Regions from separate parts of the Homo sapiens genome. Here region 2 is linked to region 1. Evidence: promoter capture Hi-C in 16 types of primary human blood cells and fetal thymus (Javierre and others, 2016). All regions are on one chromosome and are shown on one strand. The core of a region is centred on a gene start or on the middle of the fragment in contact, and the rest is flanking DNA. Distances in the headings are between cores, read along the strand shown.

The links. Contacts are between HindIII fragments. The CHiCAGO score rates a contact against its expected background, and 5 or more counts as called.
Region 2: a contact is called between a fragment that was not itself captured here and the fragment with the promoter of LSM7 in region 1, in 1 of 17 cell types (monocytes). The highest score is 5.3, in monocytes.

What each region holds. Positions count from the first base shown.
Region 1 is chr19:2,326,081-2,330,507 of GRCh38, forward strand. LSM7 (LSM7 homolog, U6 small nuclear RNA and mRNA degradation associated) reads right to left here and starts at 2,506. Exons shown (of 4, transcript NM_016199.3): 1 at 2,481-2,506; 2 at 2,307-2,397. The coding sequence starts at 2,486. It overlaps SPPL2B (signal peptide peptidase like 2B), which reads left to right and starts at 2,604. Exons shown (of 15, transcript NM_152988.3): 1 at 2,604-2,695. The coding sequence starts at 2,630. RefSeq lists silencers at 1,511-1,610, 2,631-2,890 and enhancers at 1,881-1,940, 2,221-2,875, 2,311-2,360, 2,371-2,420. The HindIII fragment of the contact is 4,029 bases long and covers 1-3,838 here.
Region 2 is chr19:2,189,538-2,193,691 of GRCh38, forward strand. It overlaps DOT1L (DOT1 like histone lysine methyltransferase), which reads left to right. Exons shown (of 28, transcript NM_032482.3): 4 at 195-258; 5 at 1,475-1,703; 6 at 4,152-4,154. Among named protein-coding and RNA genes, the nearest start is that of DOT1L-AS1, 24 kb to the right of the region's middle. The HindIII fragment of the contact is 8,550 bases long and covers 1-4,154 here.

The DNA of each region.
Region 1 (4,427 bases), core at 1,256-3,755:
GGTCTCTAACATGGAGCCAAGGTGCCCCTCCTCTGGAGTGTGGGCTAGGGCCTGTGACTCTGACGGGACAAGATGTCACTCCTGCGCTTAGGTTATGTGGCAAAGACAAGGAACTTTGCAGCTGTAATTAGAGCCCCTGAATCAGCTGACTGAGCCAATCAAGAGAGAAACACCCTGGGTGGGCCTGACTGCATCAGGTGAGCCCTTCAGGGACCAAACCCTTTCTGCTTTTTGTGTGTGTGTGTGTGTGTGTGTGTGTGTGTGTGTGTGTGTGTGTTTGAGATGGAGTCTTGCTCTGTCGCCCAGGCTGGAATGCAGTGGCGCGATCTCAGCTCACTGCAACCTCTGCCTCCAGGGCGATTCTCCTGCCTCAGCCTCCCAAGTAGCTGGGACTACAGGCATGCGCCACCATGCCCAAATAATTTTTGTATTTTTAGTAGAGATGGGGCCTTGCCATGTAGGCCAGGCTGGTCTCAAACTCCTGAACTCAAGTGATCTGCCCGCCTCAGCCTCCCAAAGTGCTGGGATTACAGGCGTGAGCCACAGCGCCCAGTTAATTGTTGTACTTTTAGTAGAGATGGGGTTTCGCCATGTTGGCCAGGCTGGTCTCGAACTCCTGACCTCAGGTGATCCACCTGCCTTAGCCTCCCAGACTGCTGGGATTAAGGCGTGAGCCCCCGCACCCGGCCCCAAACCCTTTCTGAAAGATGATTCTCCCACTGGCCCGAATAACTGAATATGGACAAATGTCAGCTCAGCCTGCAGCACTGTAGGGGCAGACCACCACGGTGGAACAGAGTCCCGAGCTGGCAGCGTCCGGGAGCTGCAAGTGTCCCTAGCCAACACTGGCCAGAACGGGGACCCTGGCCCTGCAAAGGTAAGGCACTGAGCTCTGTCAATAACCAGTGGGCTCAGAAGAAGACCCCAAGATGATGGACCCCAAAAAACAACCCTCAGTTACAACCTCCTGAGAGCCCTTGAGGCTGTGGTACCCTGGCTCCTGACTCACAGATCCTGTGAGATAATAAAATGGTGCTGTTTCAGCTGCTAAATGGGTGATTTGCTATGAAGGGCAGAAAACAAAGGGAAGCAGTGTGACCAGCAAGAGCGGCCGCTCACTCATGTCCTTCCATGTCCGGAGTCAGCATGGTGTAGACTGAGAAAACATTTTATTCATATTCCTTTTTCTTTTTGTTTTGAGACGGAGTCTTGCCCTATCGCCAGGCTGGAGTGCGGTGGCACAATCTCGCCTCTGGGGTTCAAGCAATTCTCCTGCCTCAGCCCCCCGAGTAGCTGGGACTACAAGCGTGCGCCACCATGCCCAGCTAACTTTTTGTATTTTAGTAGAGACAGGGTTTCACCACGTAGGCCAGGATGGTCTTGATCTCCTGACCTCCTGATCTGCCTGCCTCGGCCTCCCAAAGTGTCAAGATTAAAGGCATGAGCCACTGTGCCTGGCCTCCTTTTTCTCTTTTGAGACTGGGCCTTGCTCTGTGGCCCAGGCTGGAGTGCAGTGGTGCGGTCATAGCTCACTGCAGCCTCAAACCCTAGGGTGAAGCCACCCTCCTGCTTCAGACTCCCAAATTGCTGGGATTACACACGTGAGCCGCCCCGTCCGGCTGGGGCACTGTGATTTTTAATAACTCTCATGCCACCCAGTTGTCTACAATCCAGGGACAAAGAGGTTTGGGTCCCCGTCTTACAAAAAAAAGAAACCAAAGATCCAAGAGGCTATTGAATAAGTGACGTGTTGTCTGACTGCTTACTTCCTGCTGAGAGCTGCCTCAATTACATTACATGCCTGTAACCATTCATTCTCACCACCCCCTGTGAAGTGGGTGGAGTTACCAGCCCCATTTGACAAATGAGGAAACGGAGGCTAGGAGAAGGCAGCTCACTTGCCCAGTCAAAAATGCTAGGCTGGGCATGGTGGCTCATGCCTGAAATCCCAGCAATTTAGGGGGCTGAGGCAGGCAGATCGCTTGAGGCCAGGAGTTTGAGACCATCCTGGCCAACATGGCCTCTCTACTAAAAATACAAATATTAGCCGGGCGTGGTGGTACACATTAATTCCAGCTACTCGGGAGGCTGAGGCACAAGAATCACTTGAACCTGGGAGGCGGAGGTTGCAGTGAGCTGAGATCGCACCACTGCACTCCAGCCCGGGTGACAGAGCGAGACTGCGTCTCAAAAAAAATAATGAAAATAAATAAAAGAGGTGCTTCCGCATGCGTCCTCATCATCTCTGTTGCTGGGTTTATTTGAAATTTTTAAAGAGGGGGTACCGACAGCGGGAGCCTCCTCACCTTCGCGGCCTCCCTGGAACTTTACCCGGATCGTCTTGTCGATGTACTTGGACAAGTCCAAGATGCTCTCCTTTTTCTTCTTCTCCTTATCCTGCGGGGAAAGCAGAGCGCATGAGACCTGGAGCGCGGCCCGAGCTCCACGCCCCCCGGCTCCAGATTCCGCCGCGCGCTCACCGCCATCTTGTCGCGCCGTGTGGCTCTTCGCAGGCACCGCCCCGCGCCCTTTGACCTCCCCCACGCGCATGCGCGGCGCATGCGTGGCCCGGGGTCTCGGGGCGTTGCTGGGAAACATCTGCCGTTGGTTGCGGCGGGCACCGGCCGACATGGCGGCAGCGGTGGCGGCTGCGCTGGCGCGGCTTTTGGCGGCCTTTCTGCTCCTCGCGGCCCAGGTGAGCGCGGCACCGGTCCCGACGGCACCGCGGGCTGCGGCCCTTCGGCCTCTCTGTCCCCGGGCTACGCGCAGGAACGACCCCGCTCGGCCCGTCTTGGGGGTCCAGCCTCGGGGATCCGCCGTCCCCGCGTTGTCGGCCGGCGGTGCCGGGGCTCGGCCGTGACCTTGCGGGTCTGTCCCCGGCTCCTCTCCTTTCCCCGCCTCGGAGGCCCTCCGCCGCTGCAGCGCCACTCACTTCCCACCGGGTCTGAAATTTGTGCCCCCTCCATCCTCCGGTTCTGCTTCTCCGTTTCGGGGTCTCCAGTTGCCGCCGGGGACGCCTCTCTCCGGCTCTGTGGCCTTGAGCAGGCGGCTGCCCACCCCTCTCCGAGCCTCAGTTTCCCCTTAGGCGGAACGGGCACGGTGCTAAGCTAACCTCACCCTAGGGGGTGCGGTGGGGGAACCCAGAGGCGTCCCGCGCGTCCCCCAGTAACTGGCAGCATCCTGGAGCGGCCAGGAGTCCAGCCCTGCACTGGGGTCGGATCCCCGCTCCATCTTTTACTCCGTGACCTTGGACGATGGAATTCGTGTGCAGAAGGAGGACCGACTATGGTGTGGATTCTGGAGGTTCTGTCCAGGGTGACCAGCGCCCAGGGCCAACAGGCCTTCATTATGTTCATTGTGTGTCATTTGATGTAAAGAGTGTCAGGTTCTAGTGGGGACAGTCTACGAGATCGCACTGTCATAACTGCATCTTTTATTTTCTTAATTCCAAATCTTCCCTCTCTCCTGAGTTCGGTGGCTCAGGCAATGGAACCTGGAGCAGCCCCACAAATGCAGCCCTTAACCTTCACTACCCCCTCAGAGTTCTCACTCTTAAGGCGTCGCCGCCACCTGGCTCCTCAGTCTCCACTCCTCCAGCCCCACCGCTATCCCTCTGCTGTGGCTGCCTTTGTCCACCACATCCCCAGTCCATCCTCGACACAGCAGGGGTGACCCTTTCAAAGTATGTCAGACCGTGTCGCATCCAGATGAGTGCGCCGTCCAGTTGTGACCTGGCTGCTGGGGAAGCCTGCAGCTCATTGCAGTCGCTTCACTCTCTAGTCTTTTCTCTTACCCTGAGATGCCCCTGGTCTCTGCAAGGCTGTCGGGCCCCCTCGGAAGCTTTCTGAGAACCCCAGTCCTACCCCCAGCTGCTCTGTCAGCCCCCTTTGGACTCCCCCCATTCTGCAGCCAGGCACCTAGAGCTCCCCAGACATTTGGAAGGAGGGGGAAAGCCAGAGGTGGAAGAAAGATCACAGAACTCTGTGGAGAGAGGGACTCAGTTTGCCTGGGAAGGCTTTTCCGAAGCAGATCTATTTTTTTTTTTTGAGACGGAGTCTCGCTCTGTCGCCCAGGCTGGAGTGCAGTGGCATGATCTAGGCTCACTGCAACCTCTGCCTCCCGGTTCAAGCAATTCTCCCACCTCAGCCTCCCGAATAGCTGGGATTACAGGTGCATGCCACCACTCCTGGCTAAATTTTTTTTTTTTTTTTTTTAGTAGAGACGAGGTTTCACCATGTTGGTCAGGCTGGTCTCGAACTTCAGACCTCAGGTGATCCACCTGCTTCGGCCACCCAAAGTGCTGGGATGACAGGCGTGAGCCACCGTGCCCGGCCCCGAGGCAGGTGTTCTGAATGATGAGTAGGAGTTTGCCGGGTCGGCAGGAGGGGAAGGGTGTTGGAAGCACCAGAAGCAGCATAAGCGGGGGC
Region 2 (4,154 bases), core at 580-3,079, 140 kb before region 1:
TTGTGTGTCAAACCTGAAATCTCCTGCATCAGGGCGGAAAGCGAGGCTTCTGCCAGAAGGGTCTTGGCCAGCTGGCTGGTGGCTGTCCAGGCAGGGACCACACCTTGGAGCCTGCCTTATCCACATGCTGTCCCCTCCCATGCATGCGGCTGGCTCCTGCCCGCATGACCAGGGCCTTCCCTTGCCTTTTTCAGCTTCGAGAGCATGCAGAGGCTCTGCGACAAGTACAACCGTGCCATCGACAGCATCCACCAGCTGGTAGGTGGCTTGCCCCTGCCCAGAGGGGGTTAGTAGTGCCAGGCTCCCGGACCCCTCCAGACCCCTTATGTCACCGCCTCGGGGCACAGAGCTCCCCTTAGAGCCCCTGGGGATTGGAATGTGCAGCGTGGGGGGACGATGGGCTGTGGGTGAGTGGTGTGGGGGCTGCCGAGGCTGGGCTGTGTGCTGTGGCCGTGTGCCAAAGCAGAGCCGTCCGTGGTTTGTGTGCTGAGGCAGGGCCCTGAGGGTTGTGGTGTCTGCACACGCCTCTGCAGCCCTGGGTTGGTGTCCGCAGGTCCCAGCAGAGGCGGGGTCCCTGTCCTCCCCGGGCTGTGTGAATGCCGGCCTTCCCCCTTGGACCTCCCCCACACCGCCTGCCTTCATCAGGCTGGATGCCGGCCTGGGCTGCACCCTTGGGCACCCCGGTCCTGCTGTGTCTCGTGAGGCTTTCCTCACAGAGGACGGGGCACACAGTGAGCTGGGGTGTAGCAGGGAGGGGAACGTGCTGCTTCCCATGTTCTAGAAAGCACCGGGGGCCCCTGGTGCATGGGGGTAGGGGAGCTCTTTCTTGAAGGTCTTGCTGTGGAGGGAGCCCTGGTGGGGGTGGCATGGGCTCACTTGGCCCTCCTGAGTGGGACTGGGCTGGGCTGGGCTGCCCCATCAGCCTGCCACCCGGCTCTGGCTTCCCCTCAACCTCATGCATGCAGCTCTGTGGGCCCCTGAGAGCTGAGCTGGCCTGGGCGAGAGGGGACCACCTCAGCCTGCTGCAGCTGGTGGGGAGGAAGGCGGGGTCCCACGTAGTCGAGTCAGATGAGGTGTGGTAGGCTCAGGGCTTTCACGGGGCTCGTGGCACCTGACGGGGGTCCCTTGGTGTCAGCGCCCCACCCTGCTGCCTTGGCCCAGAGGAGGGGTGGTGGTCTTGGTGGCCTGTGTGGTTTTGGTGGTCTTGCCAGTGGGGAGAGAGGCCCGTGGCAGGAGGTGGAGCCTCCTAGGACCCCTCTGAGTTGGGGCCTGTCCCTGGGGATGCTGCTTTACTGCTTGTAGGAAATGGGGCTGGGTTGGAAACTGACCTGGGAGCCCGGCAGCCACCCTGCAGGGGGACGAGAGGCCATGCAGCCGACTCCCTGCTTCCGCTGGGAAAGGTCCCGGGTCTTGGTGGTGGAGGGGCTGGGCCGTGAGGTTTATGTGACATGGCCGGGCCACCCTCCGTCCGCAGTGGAAGGGCACCACGCAGCCCATGAAGCTGAACACGCGGCCGTCCACTGGACTCCTGCGCCATATCCTGCAGCAGGTCTACAACCACTCGGTGACCGACCCCGAGAAGCTCAACAACTACGAGCCCTTCTCCCCCGAGGTGTACGGGGAGACCTCCTTCGACCTGGTGGCCCAGATGATTGATGAGATCAAGATGACCGACGACGACCTGTTTGTGGACTTGGGGAGCGGTGAGTGTCGCCCGCCATGCCCGGCTCCTGTGCACTTCCAGGCCACACGCTCTGTGCCTGCCCCATGCCTGCTTGGAGAAGAGTTTATCAGGGACTTGCGACGTTGGCGTGGACAGTGCTTCCTTCTCCCAGCGCCTCTGTCCCGCTGTGGGGCCGTTCCTTTCCCCAGCCCTGACCGGGCTCCACCCAGAGGGGAGAAATCGCAGGAACCCAGTGGCTCCCAGACCAGGCCCATCCTCCCAGGTGCCCGGAGACTCTGCTTTCGTCCTGCTTCCCACCAGCTGGGGAGCTAGACCTGTGCACCCTCTACTGCTCGCTCCCAGAAGCTGCCACTCGCTAGCCTGGGCCCCAGCCCGGGCCCCACCCACGGCTGCAGCCTGCCGCAGTCCTTCCCTGGGCACACCTGCTCCCTCCACAGCGGCTGGAAAGGTCCCCCGCGGAGGAAGACCCCAGGTCCCTGGGCTCCCGGAGGCCCTCGCGCCCTCCCTGCATCCCCAGTCTCCCTCGGCACCCCTGCGTCTGGGCCGTGCCCTGCCCCTCCCAGGTTGGGGCTCCCACCTGCTGGCATTCTTTCAGCCTCTGCCTGCACTCAGACTCTGCTTGTGAGGTGTCGTCTCCTCTCAACCACGGGCGGGGCTCCTTGAAACGAGGCCCTAGGTGTGTCTTCAGCAGCAGCGTGGCCTGGCTGAAGCACAGATGAGCGGCCCGTACACGAACAGCCTCAGTAGCCTGACGAATTCTTGATAGGACCACCCCATCCAGGCTGCAGGGCTGACGGGGCCACCCAAGGGTCAGACAGTGAAGGCCCCTTCTCCACAGTGTCTAGGCTGTCCCTGGGCTCCTTGGACCTCGATGGACATGTGAACCTTGTGCCTGCAGGCACGCGAGCCCCACGTCTGCCCCCTTTCCACAGTCCTGGCTTTGACGTGGGGAAGGGGCCCCAGGGGCAGGGACCAAGAGGACTTTGCACAGACTGGGTGTGGCAGCTCACGCCTGTCATCTTAGCACTTGGAAGGCTGAGATGGGAGGGTCACTTGAGGCTAGGAGTTCAAGACCAGGCTGGTCAGCATAGCAAGATCCCACTTCTGTTTATTTATTTAAATTTATTTTCAAATTTAAAAAATGCAATAAAAAGAATGTGTATCGTCTGGACGTGGTGGCTCACGCCTGTAATCCCAGCACTTTGGGAGGCCAAAGCAGGCGGATCTGAGCTCCTGAGGTCAGGAGTTCGAGACCAGCCTGGCCAACATGGTGAAACTTTCCCTCTACTAAAAGTACAAAAATCAGTTGGGTGTGGTGGCGCGCGCCTGTAATCCCAGCTACTTGGGAGGCTGAGGCAGGGGAATTGCTTGAACTTTGAAGGCGGAGGTTGTGGTGAGACGAGATCGCATCACGGCACTCCGGCCTGGGTGACAGAGTGAGACTCCGTCTCAAAAAAAAAAAAAAAAAAAATGGGGCATATCTGGCTGGGCTCTTTGGCTCCTGCCTGTAATCCCAATGCTTTGGAAGGCTGAGGTGGGAGGATCGCTTGAGCCCAAGAGGTTGAGGCTGCAGTGAGCCAGGATCACACCACTGCAGTCCAGCCTGGGTGACAGAATCAGACCCTGTCTCAAAAACAAAAAATTAAAAAGGCTTATATGTTTTAGATGATGACGGCCTAGCACTTGCTGGCCGGGCCCTGGCCCCCCGTCCCTGTGTGCTTCTCTTCCCACTGGTGTGGTGGCGGCGGTCTGTGCCCATTGTGGTCGCTCCATGGTTCATGCCCGTTCCCTGGAGCACAGAGCTGCCTAGCAGGGGAGGAGAGGTGGCTTGACACCCCCGGTGTGCGCCGCTGCCTCCACCCTCCTGACGCTGGCGTATCTGCAGCCCCTGTTCCCTCCTTCTCCCTTAGAGCCGGGTGTTGCTGGGTTGTGTGCTGATGCTGTGAAACCGCAGCGGCCGGGAGACTGTCCTGGCTGCGGGGGACCCCTCACTGCCTCTCCCACCCTACATTGAGCCTCAGTCAGATCCTGCTCATGAGCCTTCCTGGGGTGCCATAAGATTTTATCAGCCAGGTTGCTGTGTGTCTGTGTGCTGGTGACGTGGGGATAATTTGAGGTGGACGGCAGCCTTTCCAGACCTGCAAAGTCTTGGGCAGCCCTGTCTGTCTGAACAGTGAACATCACATAGGGCCCTGAGACTCAAAATGGATTCTGGTTTCGGGGGCCACCAAGTGATGTCCATGGATGACGCGTTGTGATGACCGTCCCCTCGTGGGGGCTCTGTCAGGGGCCTGGTCTCTGGGAAGGATCCTGAGTGACCTTGGAGCATCGGATATGTGTGGAGACTGTGGCCTCCCCTGTGGGTCTTCATGGCCGCATTCTTGTGGCCTCTGTCTCCGAGCCTAGCACGGCCTCCCGGGTGGCATCTGAGCGCTGTGTGGTATCTGATGGATCTCTCTGATCATAGGTG